Linked DNA regions of Homo sapiens: all the other regions are linked to region 2. The links are contacts of gene promoters, found by promoter capture Hi-C in human tissues and cell types (Jung and others, 2019). All regions are on one chromosome and are shown on one strand. The core of a region is centred on a gene start or on the middle of the fragment in contact, and the rest is flanking DNA. Distances in the headings are between cores, read along the strand shown. Region 1 holds the start of GSTP1 (glutathione S-transferase pi 1). Region 2 holds the start of BRMS1 (BRMS1 transcriptional repressor and anoikis regulator). Region 3 holds the start of NAALADL1 (N-acetylated alpha-linked acidic dipeptidase like 1).

Evidence for each region. Contacts are between HindIII fragments. The study calls those that stand out against the background at their distance.
Region 1: the fragment with the promoter of GSTP1 here is called in contact with a fragment that was not itself captured in region 2 in 1 of the 25 tissues and cell types used here (psoas muscle).
Region 3: a contact is called between the fragment with the promoter of NAALADL1 here and a fragment that was not itself captured in region 2, in 1 of the 25 tissues and cell types used here (ovary).

What each region holds. Positions count from the first base shown.
Region 1 is chr11:67,582,519-67,586,346 of GRCh38, forward strand. GSTP1 (glutathione S-transferase pi 1) reads left to right here and starts at 1,294. Exons shown (of 7, transcript NM_000852.4): 1 at 1,294-1,326; 2 at 1,616-1,651; 3 at 1,946-2,052; 4 at 2,167-2,254; 5 at 2,620-2,723; 6 at 3,586-3,693. The coding sequence starts at 1,326. RefSeq lists silencers at 894-1,513, 1,064-1,206, 1,524-1,673. The HindIII fragment of the contact is 9,062 bases long and covers 1-3,828 here.
Region 2 is chr11:66,341,745-66,345,742 of GRCh38, forward strand. BRMS1 (BRMS1 transcriptional repressor and anoikis regulator) reads right to left here and starts at 3,360. Exons shown (of 10, transcript NM_015399.4): 1 at 3,228-3,360; 2 at 352-497. The coding sequence starts at 490. It overlaps B4GAT1 (beta-1,4-glucuronyltransferase 1), which reads right to left. Exons shown (of 2, transcript NM_006876.3): 2 at 3,630-3,998. RefSeq lists enhancers at 3,100-3,650, 3,106-3,535. The HindIII fragment of the contact is 3,306 bases long and covers 1-3,275 here.
Region 3 is chr11:65,056,571-65,060,722 of GRCh38, forward strand. It overlaps NAALADL1 (N-acetylated alpha-linked acidic dipeptidase like 1), which reads right to left and starts at 1,983. Exons shown (of 18, transcript NM_005468.3): 1 at 1,767-1,983; 2 at 1,508-1,680; 3 at 1,305-1,426; 4 at 801-923. The coding sequence starts at 1,951. The HindIII fragment of the contact is 22,908 bases long and covers 1-4,152 here.

The DNA.
Region 1 (3,828 bases), core at 44-2,543, 1.2 Mb after region 2:
GACTCCTTGGACAAACTTGACAGTTGATGGAATAGGAGAAGCTGTCTGTCATGTCTAAAGCCAACAAGAGATCAATATCTAGAATAAATGGAGATCTGCAAATCAACAGAAAGTAGGCAGCAAAGCCAAAGAAAATAGCCTAAGGCACAGCCACTAAAAGGAACGTGATCATGTCCTTTGCAGGGACATGGGTGGAGCTGGAAGCCGTTAGCCTCAGCAAACTCACACAGGAACAGAAAACCAGCGAGACCGCATGGTCTCACTTATAAGTGGGAGCTGAACAATGAGAACACATGGTCACATGGCGGCGATCAACACACACTGGTGCCTGTTGAGCGGGGTGCTGGGGAGGGAGAGTACCAGGAAGAATAGCTAAGGGATACTGGGCTTAATACCTGGGTGATGGGATGATCTGTACAGCAAACCATCATGGCGCACACACCTATGTAACAAACCTGCACATCCTCTACATGTACCCCAGAACTTCAAATAAAAGTTGGACGGCCAGGCGTGGTGGCTCACGCCTGTAATCCCAGCACTTTGGGAAGCCGAGGCGTGCAGATCACCTAAGGTCAGGAGTTCGAGACCAGCCCGGCCAACATGGTGAAACCCCGTCTCTACTAAAAATACAAAAATCAGCCAGATGTGGCACGCACCTATAATTCCACCTACTCGGGAGGCTGAAGCAGAATTGCTTGAACCCGAGAGGCGGAGGTTGCAGTGAGCCGCCGAGATCGCGCCACTGCACTCCAGCCTGGGCCACAGCGTGAGACTACGTCATAAAATAAAATAAAATAACACAAAATAAAATAAAATAAAATAAAATAAAATAAAATAAAATAAAATAAAATAAAATAAAAAAATAAAATAAAATAAAATAAAATAAAGCAATTTCCTTTCCTCTAAGCGGCCTCCACCCCTCTCCCCTGCCCTGTGAAGCGGGTGTGCAAGCTCCGGGATCGCAGCGGTCTTAGGGAATTTCCCCCCGCGATGTCCCGGCGCGCCAGTTCGCTGCGCACACTTCGCTGCGGTCCTCTTCCTGCTGTCTGTTTACTCCCTAGGCCCCGCTGGGGACCTGGGAAAGAGGGAAAGGCTTCCCCGGCCAGCTGCGCGGCGACTCCGGGGACTCCAGGGCGCCCCTCTGCGGCCGACGCCCGGGGTGCAGCGGCCGCCGGGGCTGGGGCCGGCGGGAGTCCGCGGGACCCTCCAGAAGAGCGGCCGGCGCCGTGACTCAGCACTGGGGCGGAGCGGGGCGGGACCACCCTTATAAGGCTCGGAGGCCGCGAGGCCTTCGCTGGAGTTTCGCCGCCGCAGTCTTCGCCACCAGTGAGTACGCGCGGCCCGCGTCCCCGGGGATGGGGCTCAGAGCTCCCAGCATGGGGCCAACCCGCAGCATCAGGCCCGGGCTCCCGGCAGGGCTCCTCGCCCACCTCGAGACCCGGGACGGGGGCCTAGGGGACCCAGGACGTCCCCAGTGCCGTTAGCGGCTTTCAGGGGGCCCGGAGCGCCTCGGGGAGGGATGGGACCCCGGGGGCGGGGAGGGGGGGCAGACTGCGCTCACCGCGCCTTGGCATCCTCCCCCGGGCTCCAGCAAACTTTTCTTTGTTCGCTGCAGTGCCGCCCTACACCGTGGTCTATTTCCCAGTTCGAGGTAGGAGCATGTGTCTGGCAGGGAAGGGAGGCAGGGGCTGGGGCTGCAGCCCACAGCCCCTCGCCCACCCGGAGAGATCCGAACCCCCTTATCCCTCCGTCGTGTGGCTTTTACCCCGGGCCTCCTTCCTGTTCCCCGCCTCTCCCGCCATGCCTGCTCCCCGCCCCAGTGTTGTGTGAAATCTTCGGAGGAACCTGTTTCCCTGTTCCCTCCCTGCACTCCTGACCCCTCCCCGGGTTGCTGCGAGGCGGAGTCGGCCCGGTCCCCACATCTCGTACTTCTCCCTCCCCGCAGGCCGCTGCGCGGCCCTGCGCATGCTGCTGGCAGATCAGGGCCAGAGCTGGAAGGAGGAGGTGGTGACCGTGGAGACGTGGCAGGAGGGCTCACTCAAAGCCTCCTGCGTAAGTGACCATGCCCGGGCAAGGGGAGGGGGTGCTGGGCCTTAGGGGGCTGTGACTAGGATCGGGGGACGCCCAAGCTCAGTGCCCCTCCCTGAGCCATGCCTCCCCCAACAGCTATACGGGCAGCTCCCCAAGTTCCAGGACGGAGACCTCACCCTGTACCAGTCCAATACCATCCTGCGTCACCTGGGCCGCACCCTTGGTGAGTCTTGAACCTCCAAGTCCAGGGCAGGCATGGGCAAGCCTCTGCCCCCGGAGCCCTTTTGTTTAAATCAGCTGCCCCGCAGCCCTCTGGAGTGGAGGAAACTGAGACCCACTGAGGTTACGTAGTTTGCCCAAGGTCAAGCCTGGGTGCCTGCAATCCTTGCCCTGTGCCAGGCTGCCTCCCAGGTGTCAGGTGAGCTCTGAGCACCTGCTGTGTGGCAGTCTCTCATCCTTCCACGCACATCCTCTTCCCCTCCTCCCAGGCTGGGGCTCACAGACAGCCCCCTGGTTGGCCCATCCCCAGTGACTGTGTGTTGATCAGGCGCCCAGTCACGCGGCCTGCTCCCCTCCACCCAACCCCAGGGCTCTATGGGAAGGACCAGCAGGAGGCAGCCCTGGTGGACATGGTGAATGACGGCGTGGAGGACCTCCGCTGCAAATACATCTCCCTCATCTACACCAACTATGTGAGCATCTGCACCAGGGTTGGGCACTGGGGGCTGAACAAAGAAAGGGGCTTCTTGTGCCCTCACCCCCCTTACCCCTCAGGTGGCTTGGGCTGACCCCTTCTTGGGTCAGGGTGCAGGGGCTGGGTCAGCTCTGGGCCAGGGGCCCAGGGGCCTGGGACAAGACACAACCTGCACCCTTATTGCCTGGGACATCAACCAGCCAAGTAACGGGTCATGGGGGCGAGTGCAAGGACAGAGACCTCCAGCAACTGGTGGTTTCTGATCTCCTGGGGTGGCGAGGGCTTCCTGGAGTAGCCAGAGGTGGAGGAGGATTTGTCGCCAGTTTCTGGATGGAGGTGCTGGCACTTTTAGCTGAGGAAAATATGCAGACACAGAGCACATTTGGGGACCTGGGACCAGTTCAGCAGAGGCAGCGTGTGTGCGCGTGCGTGTGCATGTGTGTGCGTGTGTGTGTGTACGCTTGCATTTGTGTCGGGTGGGTAAGGAGATAGAGATGGGCGGGCAGTAGGCCCAGGTCCCGAAGGCCTTGAACCCACTGGTTTGGAGTCTCCTAAGGGCAATGGGGGCCATTGAGAAGTCTGAACAGGGCTGTGTCTGAATGTGAGGTCTAGAAGGATCCTCCAGAGAAGCCAGCTCTAAAGCTTTTGCAATCATCTGGTGAGAGAACCCAGCAAGGATGGACAGGCAGAATGGAATAGAGATGAGTTGGCAGCTGAAGTGGACAGGATTTGGTACTAGCCTGGTTGTGGGGAGCAAGCAGAGGAGAATCTGGGACTCTGGTGTCTGGCCTGGGGCAGACGGGGGTGTCTCAGGGGCTGGGAGGGATGAGAGTAGGATGATACATGGTGGTGTCTGGCAGGAGGCGGGCAAGGATGACTATGTGAAGGCACTGCCCGGGCAACTGAAGCCTTTTGAGACCCTGCTGTCCCAGAACCAGGGAGGCAAGACCTTCATTGTGGGAGACCAGGTGAGCATCTGGCCCCATGCTGTTCCTTCCTCGCCACCCTCTGCTTCCAGATGGACACAGGTGTGAGCCATTTGTTTAGCAAAGCAGAGCAGACCTAGGGGATGGGCTTAGGCCCTCTGCCCCCAATTCCTCCAG
Region 2 (3,998 bases), core at 373-2,872:
TGCGCGTACATGCTTGTGTGAAGGGGCTGTGTGTGTGCGTGTGTGCTTGTGTGTAGGGGCTGTGTGTGCATATGCGTGCGTGCTTGTGTGAAGGGGCTGTGTGCACGTGTACTTGTGTGAAGGGGCTGTGTGTGTGCATACGTGCTTGTGTGTAGGGGCTGTGTGTGCGTGCTTGTGTGTAGGGGCTGTGTGTGCGTGTGTGCGCTTGTGTGCAGGGTCTGTGTATGTGCTTGTGTGTAGGCGCTGTATGTGCATGTGCGTGCATGCTTGTGTGTAGGGGCTGTGTGTGTGCATGTGTGTGTGTAGGGGCTCTGTGTGTGTGTGTGTGTGTCTGTGTGTGTAGGGGCTCACCGGAGCTCTCCTCTTCTGACTCTGTCTGGCTGCCGCTCCGCTCCTCCTCACTCTCTTCCTCCTCCCCATTCATCTCAGCAGCAGAATCACCCTCTGCTTCCATCTCTTCTGTGTCTTTGCTTGGAGGCTGGACAGGCATCTGGACTCTGGGAGAAGGAATGGAGCTATCACTTATGGCTGCCCACAGCTCAGAGGGGGAAAGAGGCAGCAGGATGCTGAACACAACTCGATCCCAGATGGGGAAAGCCAGGGAAGTAACTGGCCTGGCCACACCTTGAGCACAAACTGGGTGACAAGGGTGCAAATGGCCATCTGCACCTCTCACAGAAGGCTGGGAGCTGTGGAACTGCTCCTGCTCTTGGATGTCACTGGTGATCCTAATCCTAGCAATACTGGCCAAGGCTGTGATCCACAGAAAGGAAAGGCCCAGGGGGCACTCTCCACTGCCTTTGCAACTGGACCTAAATTTCTTTTCTTCTTATTATTTTTTGAGACAGAGTCTCGCTCTGTTGACAAGCTGGAGTGCAGTGGCACGATCTCAGCTCACTGCAACCTCCTCCTCCTGGGTTCAAGCGATTCTCCTGCCTCAGCCTCCTGAGTAGTGAGATTACAGGCGCCCGCACCACACCCAAACTGGACCTAAATTTCTAACTGGGGCTTTCAAGGTCTTTCCCAGACTGGACTTGACCTACCGGTCCAGCTCCTTCATCCCAACATATAATGGCTAGTGCTTGCACTTCCACTATCCACCCTCTGCCTCAGCTGTTCCTTCTGCCTATAATGTCCTCGGCTTCTCTTCCAGATAATGTTACAATCTCCTTGTCTTTCATTGTGCTCTGGGTCAAATCCCATCTCCTTCTGCTTCCTCTTGGACCGCAGGTCATCAGTGCTCCCCTCTCTTTTCTGTGTCTTCAGCTTCTAACTCTTAGCAACCTCCTTCCCATGAAACTTTGGATGTGCTTGGGTACTTCCTAGCATTAACAAAACACAGAAACACAAAACCTCACCCATTCCACCTAACTGCTCCATTTGCCACTTCACAGTTACACTTTTCAAGGTCTCATGAACACTGGCTGTTCCTACTTTCACCTCCCACTTGTTCGATGTCCTCAATCTCAGCTGAAACTGATCCCGTAGCATTAACCAATGACTTCCTTGTGGCTAATGCCAATATTTTTCAGTGCTTATTTTAATTGTCTGCTCGGCAACATCCAACACTGGTAAGCATTCCTTCTTTTACTGACTCATCTAACATGTATTGAACATCTAACATATGCTAGGTACCGTCAGACGCTATGGTATGCAGGCGCCCAAGTGTGAATGTCTTTGACCTCACGGAGTTTACAAGTTCCTGGGAGACAGGGGCAAAGGAGCACACTATAACCATGATAGGAGGAGAGTTAAGACCAGGGGCATAAGGGAGGGGTATATAACCAGGACCTGGAGCCCGATGCAGCAGGGAGGCTTCCAGACAAAGATGGACCAGCTGGGTGAGCTGCACTTATTGAGGGAACATTCCAGGTAGAGTCAGTAGCAAAGACCCAGAAATAAGAGAAGGAAAGCAGCTGGGGGAACATGGGTCTAAGTCTCAGTGAGAAATCTGAGCTGCAGGGATTTGGTCGTCAGCATACAGCAAGTTCTTCATGCCACAGGAGAAGGTGCAACCAGCAAGGCACAATGTGTGCGATCAGAAGACGCCCAGGGTCACCAAAGGGGCAGATGAGGAGACCCCTACAAAGGAGGAGGCAAAACCCGAAGTGGTGGAGAAAGAGTTTTAGAAGAAAGCCAAGTACTGCCAAGGAGTAATTGCACTGATAGTGCCAAGTACTGCCAAGAGATCACCTAAGAAGAAGAAAACAGTCCTCTCAGCAGATAATCTCTCAACCTCCTGCAGGCTTCTATTTTATTGTGTTCTTCCAACTTCTCTGGACACTGCTTTGTAGTCCTTTAGAACAGTGCAGACACCACTCCCTCCAGGAAGCTTTGTTTATATCTATTTGCCTGTTCTCATATCTGTCCCCGCAATCAGTCTATGAGCCTCACTAGGGCAGGGGCTGCACATGTAACTTATTTACCTAGCACAGTGCTGGTTCACTTGATGACTGGAGGATTTGCAAATACAAATTTAACAAAAAAATTTTTTGTGAGACAGACATTAGTTTTTACTTTTCGGTAGTCCCAGGTCCCTGTAATGGTAGCAAGCTTTCCTTGACACCAGTTCAAGTTGTGTATAGTAAGCCTGGCCTAGGTGAGTGTTTAGTCATATTCCTCAACAATTTCACTAATGACCTGCACCTGACTTGAAAGGCTCGGTTCTCTAAACCAGCTTCATCTTCCCGTTATCAAGCCTCAGTTCCCAACATTTGCAATGCCTCTTCACTGTTAGTATATTCACTTTGTAAGATGCAGCTTAAGTCTATCTCTTCCAGAAGCCTTTCTTTCCTCCCCCTGGTTCTGATTATGAGTGAGTTAAGTCACAACCTTCCCACCTTACCCCGGGTGCAAAAAGCGGATAACCATTCCTGCTCTGAGTGTTGAGGAGCTCACAGGTGGTAAGGGATGGAAAAGCACACTGTAAAGCGCTGTACACAGGCAATTTATCTTTTCAGAATGGCAGCTCCTCCGGGGCAGGCCCCTAGGGAAGGCAGACCCTCCCCACTCTCGCAGAGGTCAATCCAGCTTCTCCGCAGCGCCCAGGGGGCCTCCCGCTCCCTTCTAGATGCGCCGGAGCGGGCCGGAATATCACTGGCTCGCCCGCAGCCCAGCACGCGTCAGGCCGGTTAAATCTCTGCTTCGGCCTCGGAGGAGGAGGTTGTGCCGGCCCTGCTCGACTAACCGGAGAGGGCGAACCAAAAGCCATGCATGACGATACGCACCGCGGGGACTGGAGCCTCTGGCCTCACGACGGAGATTCCCTGAGAGCTGCCCGTGGTTGCCGGTACCGGCTGCTGCCGCCGGACTCCCGTAGGCGCTGCGCGGCTCCCTTTTCTTCGGGAGGCAGAGCCTATCGGTGCTTCCGTGTGCGTCATCAGGAGGCGACCGTCGGGGATGCTCACAGTTGGACAGTTTGGTCCCGAGGCATGCTGGGATACCGCGGGCCGGTCTCCATAGTAACTGGCCGACATTCGCGCAGGCCTTCGGCCTGCAGGGAAGGCCCTGATGGTTCAGTGCTTTGCAGACGGTGCCCTTCGTCCGCGGCCATCTCCCCACGGCGTGCAAGGGGAGAAGCCGGCCCCGATCCCCCCACCCCCAGCTCAGGAGAGTAACGGAGCCAGCTGTGGGTGTGAACACGCATTTATTTACACATTGTCATCGGTAGGCACATACCCAGCCCAGCCCGTTGAAGGGACAGATCTCAGGCTGTCACCCATGGAACCTGCAGACCCTTCCCTCCTCCAGAACCCTTGAAGGCGAAGCCCTGAGAGAACCAGGAATTTTAGGCTTCTGTTCAAGAGCTAAGAACTAAATTTTATGCCTTCATCTGATTTCTTTCCAAAAAGTCCATTTCATTAAGTATTCAGACTTCTTAGCTCCATCCCATTCATACTTTTTGCTCTCCTACTACCCACCCAAGATTGTTAATAATAACAATAATAATAACAACAATAATACTGCGATAATATTAATACTTCACATTTGTACGAAGC
Region 3 (4,152 bases), core at 733-3,232, 1.3 Mb before region 2:
TGTTTTTTTGTATTTTAGTAGAGATGGGGTTTCACCGTGTTGCCCAGGCTGGTCTTGAACTCCTGAACTCAGGCAATCCGCCTGCCTTGGCCCCGCAAAGTGCTAGGATTACAAGCGTGAGCCACCACGCCCATGCCCAGCCTTTTTTTTTTTTTTTTTTTTTTTAAATCAGAGTCTCGATGTCTCCCAGGCTGGAGAGTGCAGTGGTGCAATCTCAGCTCACTACCATCTCTGCCTCCCAGGTTCAAGCAGTTCATCTGCCTGAGCCTCCCCAGTAGCTGGGATTACAGGCATGCACCACCATGTGTGGCTAATTTTGTATTTTGAGTAGAGATGGAGTTTCACCATGTTGGCCAGGCTGGCCTTGATCTCCTGACCTCAGGTGATCTGCCCACTTCGGCCTCCCAAAGTGCTGGGATTATAGGCGTGAGCCACAGCGCCCGGCCCCTAGTCAGAATTTTTGATGGAAAAGAAATGGCAGGGAGAGGGCCAACAGGAGGGACTTAAGTTGAATATTCAAAACTATTTCACAGGAGGACTTAGACTTCTGGAATACCAAACCTGAAAATTGTACTCAACCCCTTTATTTCCTACAGCTCAGAGAGGGTCAGGGAGGCATCCGAGGCCACACAGCCCATTGGTGGGACAACCCGAAAACACCTTGCCTTTCCTGCCCCACCCTGGGGCTTGGTTCCCCACTCAACACTGCCTCTTCTCCTTCCCCTTCCCCTCACTTCCTCCAGTCCACTGCCCAGCCCCTTCCTCACCGAGGCCTCCTGCACTGGGGGACTGCCACTCACCTTGGCCCCACGCCCTACACCCCCATATCGAGTCAGGGCAATGGTGCCTTCAAGTTTGATGCCCTGAGTCTGTAGCTCCTTAAAGTCTTCTTCCGCGCCCCGGTTGGCATAGACGAGGAGGCCCTAGTCCCAAGAGGGGGTGATCCTTAGAGCTGGGCCCAGCGAAGTGTGGGTGGGGAAGGGGGGTGGAAGTTTGCATGGCAGGAGGGAGAATTTAGATTCTGTTCCCCCACCTCACCCAGAGCTTGTAAGCTCCCCAAGAACAGTCACCCCTCATTTCCTCCATGTCTGGGTGCCCTGTAACAGACCTGGCCTTGAGCAGAGCCACTAGTGTTTGTTGAATGACTGATGGAGGAAAGGAGCAGCGATGGAGTGTCCCGGTGAGTAAATTCCGGAGGGCGCGCTGTGCCCCAGTTGAGGCACGTTCCCTGGGTCAGGGTGGGGAGAACCCTGGGTGGAACCAAGGGAGCTGGGCCAGAGCAGTAGGGGGGGTTCTGGGCCCACCTGTGGGGTTCCAGAAGGAGCATAGGCAGCATAGGGTTGTACCACATCTGGCCCCCCTTGCTCCCCGGTCACGTTCTCCTCAGTCCGGTGGCAGGAGTGGATGATGCCCCCAGTGGGGCCCACTGTTGGAGGGGTGGCAGTATCATGGCTGGGCCCAGCAGCTCCCCACCCCCGGGCATTCCCAAGACTGGGCAGGACCTCACCGATGTCCACGACGTTGGGCTGCTCCTGGCTAGGGAAGGACAGCAGCACTTCGTACGTGGAGGCCTCGGCCGAGTCCAGGCCTGACTCTGGGTCCTTCCAGCGCTGCAGCAGCAGCTGCACCAGGTCCTCATCCCGAGGGCTGGAGGCCAGGTGTGGCTCCCTGGAGAGTTCTCTGCAGGGTGGGCAGAGGGAGGGGCAGGGCCAGCATCAGGGAGGGGGCCTCTGGCAAACGGAGGAGCAGATGGCCCCACTTCTCACCTGAGGTTCTCCCGGATCCTGTGGGCATCCAGCTGCCCCATGACGGTCTCCAGGATCTCCAGGTCCAGGTCCTGGGGGGCCAGTGAGTTGGCTTTTTTGGGGATGGCAAAGTGGCCGAGGATGATCCCCAGCCCCAAGAGGGCAGCAGCCCCCAGCCCCAGCCCCAACACCTTCGTCCACTGCATCCTGCGGACTCTTGGCCAGCTGGGGTAGGACTGGTCTATAGGTTATTCCCTATAGAGGGGGTGTTGTGCCTGGTTAAACATTACCCCATGGGTGGCACTGCCCTTTGACCCCCAGCTGGCAGGGAGAGTGAGGGAACATCCCGCAGTGAGAGCCAGGAGCCATCCACATCCACCACATCCTGCACCATTTGCCTGGAATGGCTCTCCAAGGGCAGCAAGGTCACCCAGGGACACTGAAGCCGAGAGGGAAGGGGCTCATCCAGGGTGTCCCAGGAAAACAGAGGCCAAGCCAGGGCTGGAACTCAGAGCTCCTGTGTTCACAGCAGGGCCGTGCCCACTGCCCACCCTCACTGCCTCTGCCTCCCTCCAAGGCAGCCGATCTACAGCATACCCAGCCCTACCTGCCTGAGCAGATTTTGAGTTGAGATCCCCCTTCTTGCTGGACGTAAGCTGTGTGACCTTGGGCAATCCACTCAGCTTCTCTACACCTGTTTTCTTTTTTTTTTTTCTAGACTGTGTCTTCCACTGACACCCAGGCTGGAGTCCAGTGGTGTGATCTCGGCTCACTGCAACCTCCACCTCCCGGGCTCAAGTGATTCTCCTGCATCGGCCTCCCGAGTAGCTGGGATTACGGGTGTGCACCACCATGTCCAGCTAATTTTTGTATTTTTAGTAGAGATGGGGTTTCACCATGTTGGCCAGGCTGGTCTCAAACTCCTGATCTCAGGTGATCACCCGCCTCAGCCTCCCAAAGTGCTGGGATGACAGGAGTGAGCCACCGTGCCGGCTATGGTGTCATTTTCATTAAACAATATGGCATCTGTAGAAATAGCTAGTGCAGTGTCTGACATGTAGTGGGAGCTCATCAATTTTAACTACTCATCCCTCATCTGACTCTGGAAAATGTAAGGCCTAGAGCTAAAGGAAGAAGGAGGACCCAGAAGAACTCTCTGTGTCTATCCTGAAGGGAGCCCAGCGATACGAGGAATGGGAGTCCTGGGAAGGGAGGCTGTCCCAGAGGAGGCAGCAGGGGAAGCCCATGCCTCCCTGGCGAGGTGACTTCCTCTTCTATCCCCTGGCTCTGCCTGGACTCCGTCATCCACCCTCCTATTTATCCATCCACCCATCCCTCCATTCACTTATTCATTCCTTCCTTTATACATGCAAGCACTGTTCATTCTGTGCTATACTAGAGCCATGCAAGGCTGTGGGGAAGCAAAATCCAGCAGGCGAGGCAGACAGGCTTTAGGTTCAGCCATGTGGTAAGTGCCCTGTAGAGGGAGGATCACCATGCTCCCAGTGAAAGAGTGAGGAGTTCTGACTAGGAGGGAACATCTGAGGGGGTCCTCCAAGGCTGAAAAGGTGTTCCAGCATTTGCAAGGGCTGAGAGGGAAGTGAGACCCCAAGTATGCCATACACATACTGAGCCTCTTCCAGACCTCACGGAGAGCCAGGAGGGGCTGGGGGGGTCCCTAGGGACTTGAGCTGGGACTTCTCCCACCCTCCCATGGCCTATCCTGCCTTGACTCTGCCTCGCAGGTTGCAGCCCATGGATGGGCTCAAAGATGCCTGCAGAGCTTGGGGGCTGGATCAGGGCAGAGCGTGTGTGTGTGTGTGTGTGTGTGTGCACGTGCATGTGTGTGTGTGTGATTTCACAGACCCCTCTCAGAGCAGCCTCCTTCCTGCTCACAACCCCATTTTGCTGGCACCACCATCTCTTGTGCTGCTGGTGAGGAGGTTCAGCATGGGAGGACTAGGGGTGGCTGGGAAGGGATGTCATGTGATCAGTGACTTCAGGGAGGTGCACCAGGAAGCCACAGTTCTTGGCAACGTGATTATCGACGCCCAGAATATGACCTTGGATCTTATCAGAAGCCCATCGGTGCAGGGAGCATACACCTTCCTTATGAGGACACAGGACAGTCACCACCAGGTGGGGAGTGGGATGCCAAGGTCAGCTGATAAGTTGAGGGACTGAGGCAGCAACCCCATGGTCCTACCCCACCCACTCCTGGAAGGATTTAACCCCTCAATCATGTGAAGTCACAAACAGGACGCCTGGACAAAAGTGTGTGACATCTGAGTGATAACACCTGGGACTGTGGTTTGTGTTGGAGAGTGTGTAAACAGCTGTGTGTGTGACACCCAAGAGATCCACTCAGGCTGTTGGAATCCACTGGTGTCTACATGGCTGTAGGCAC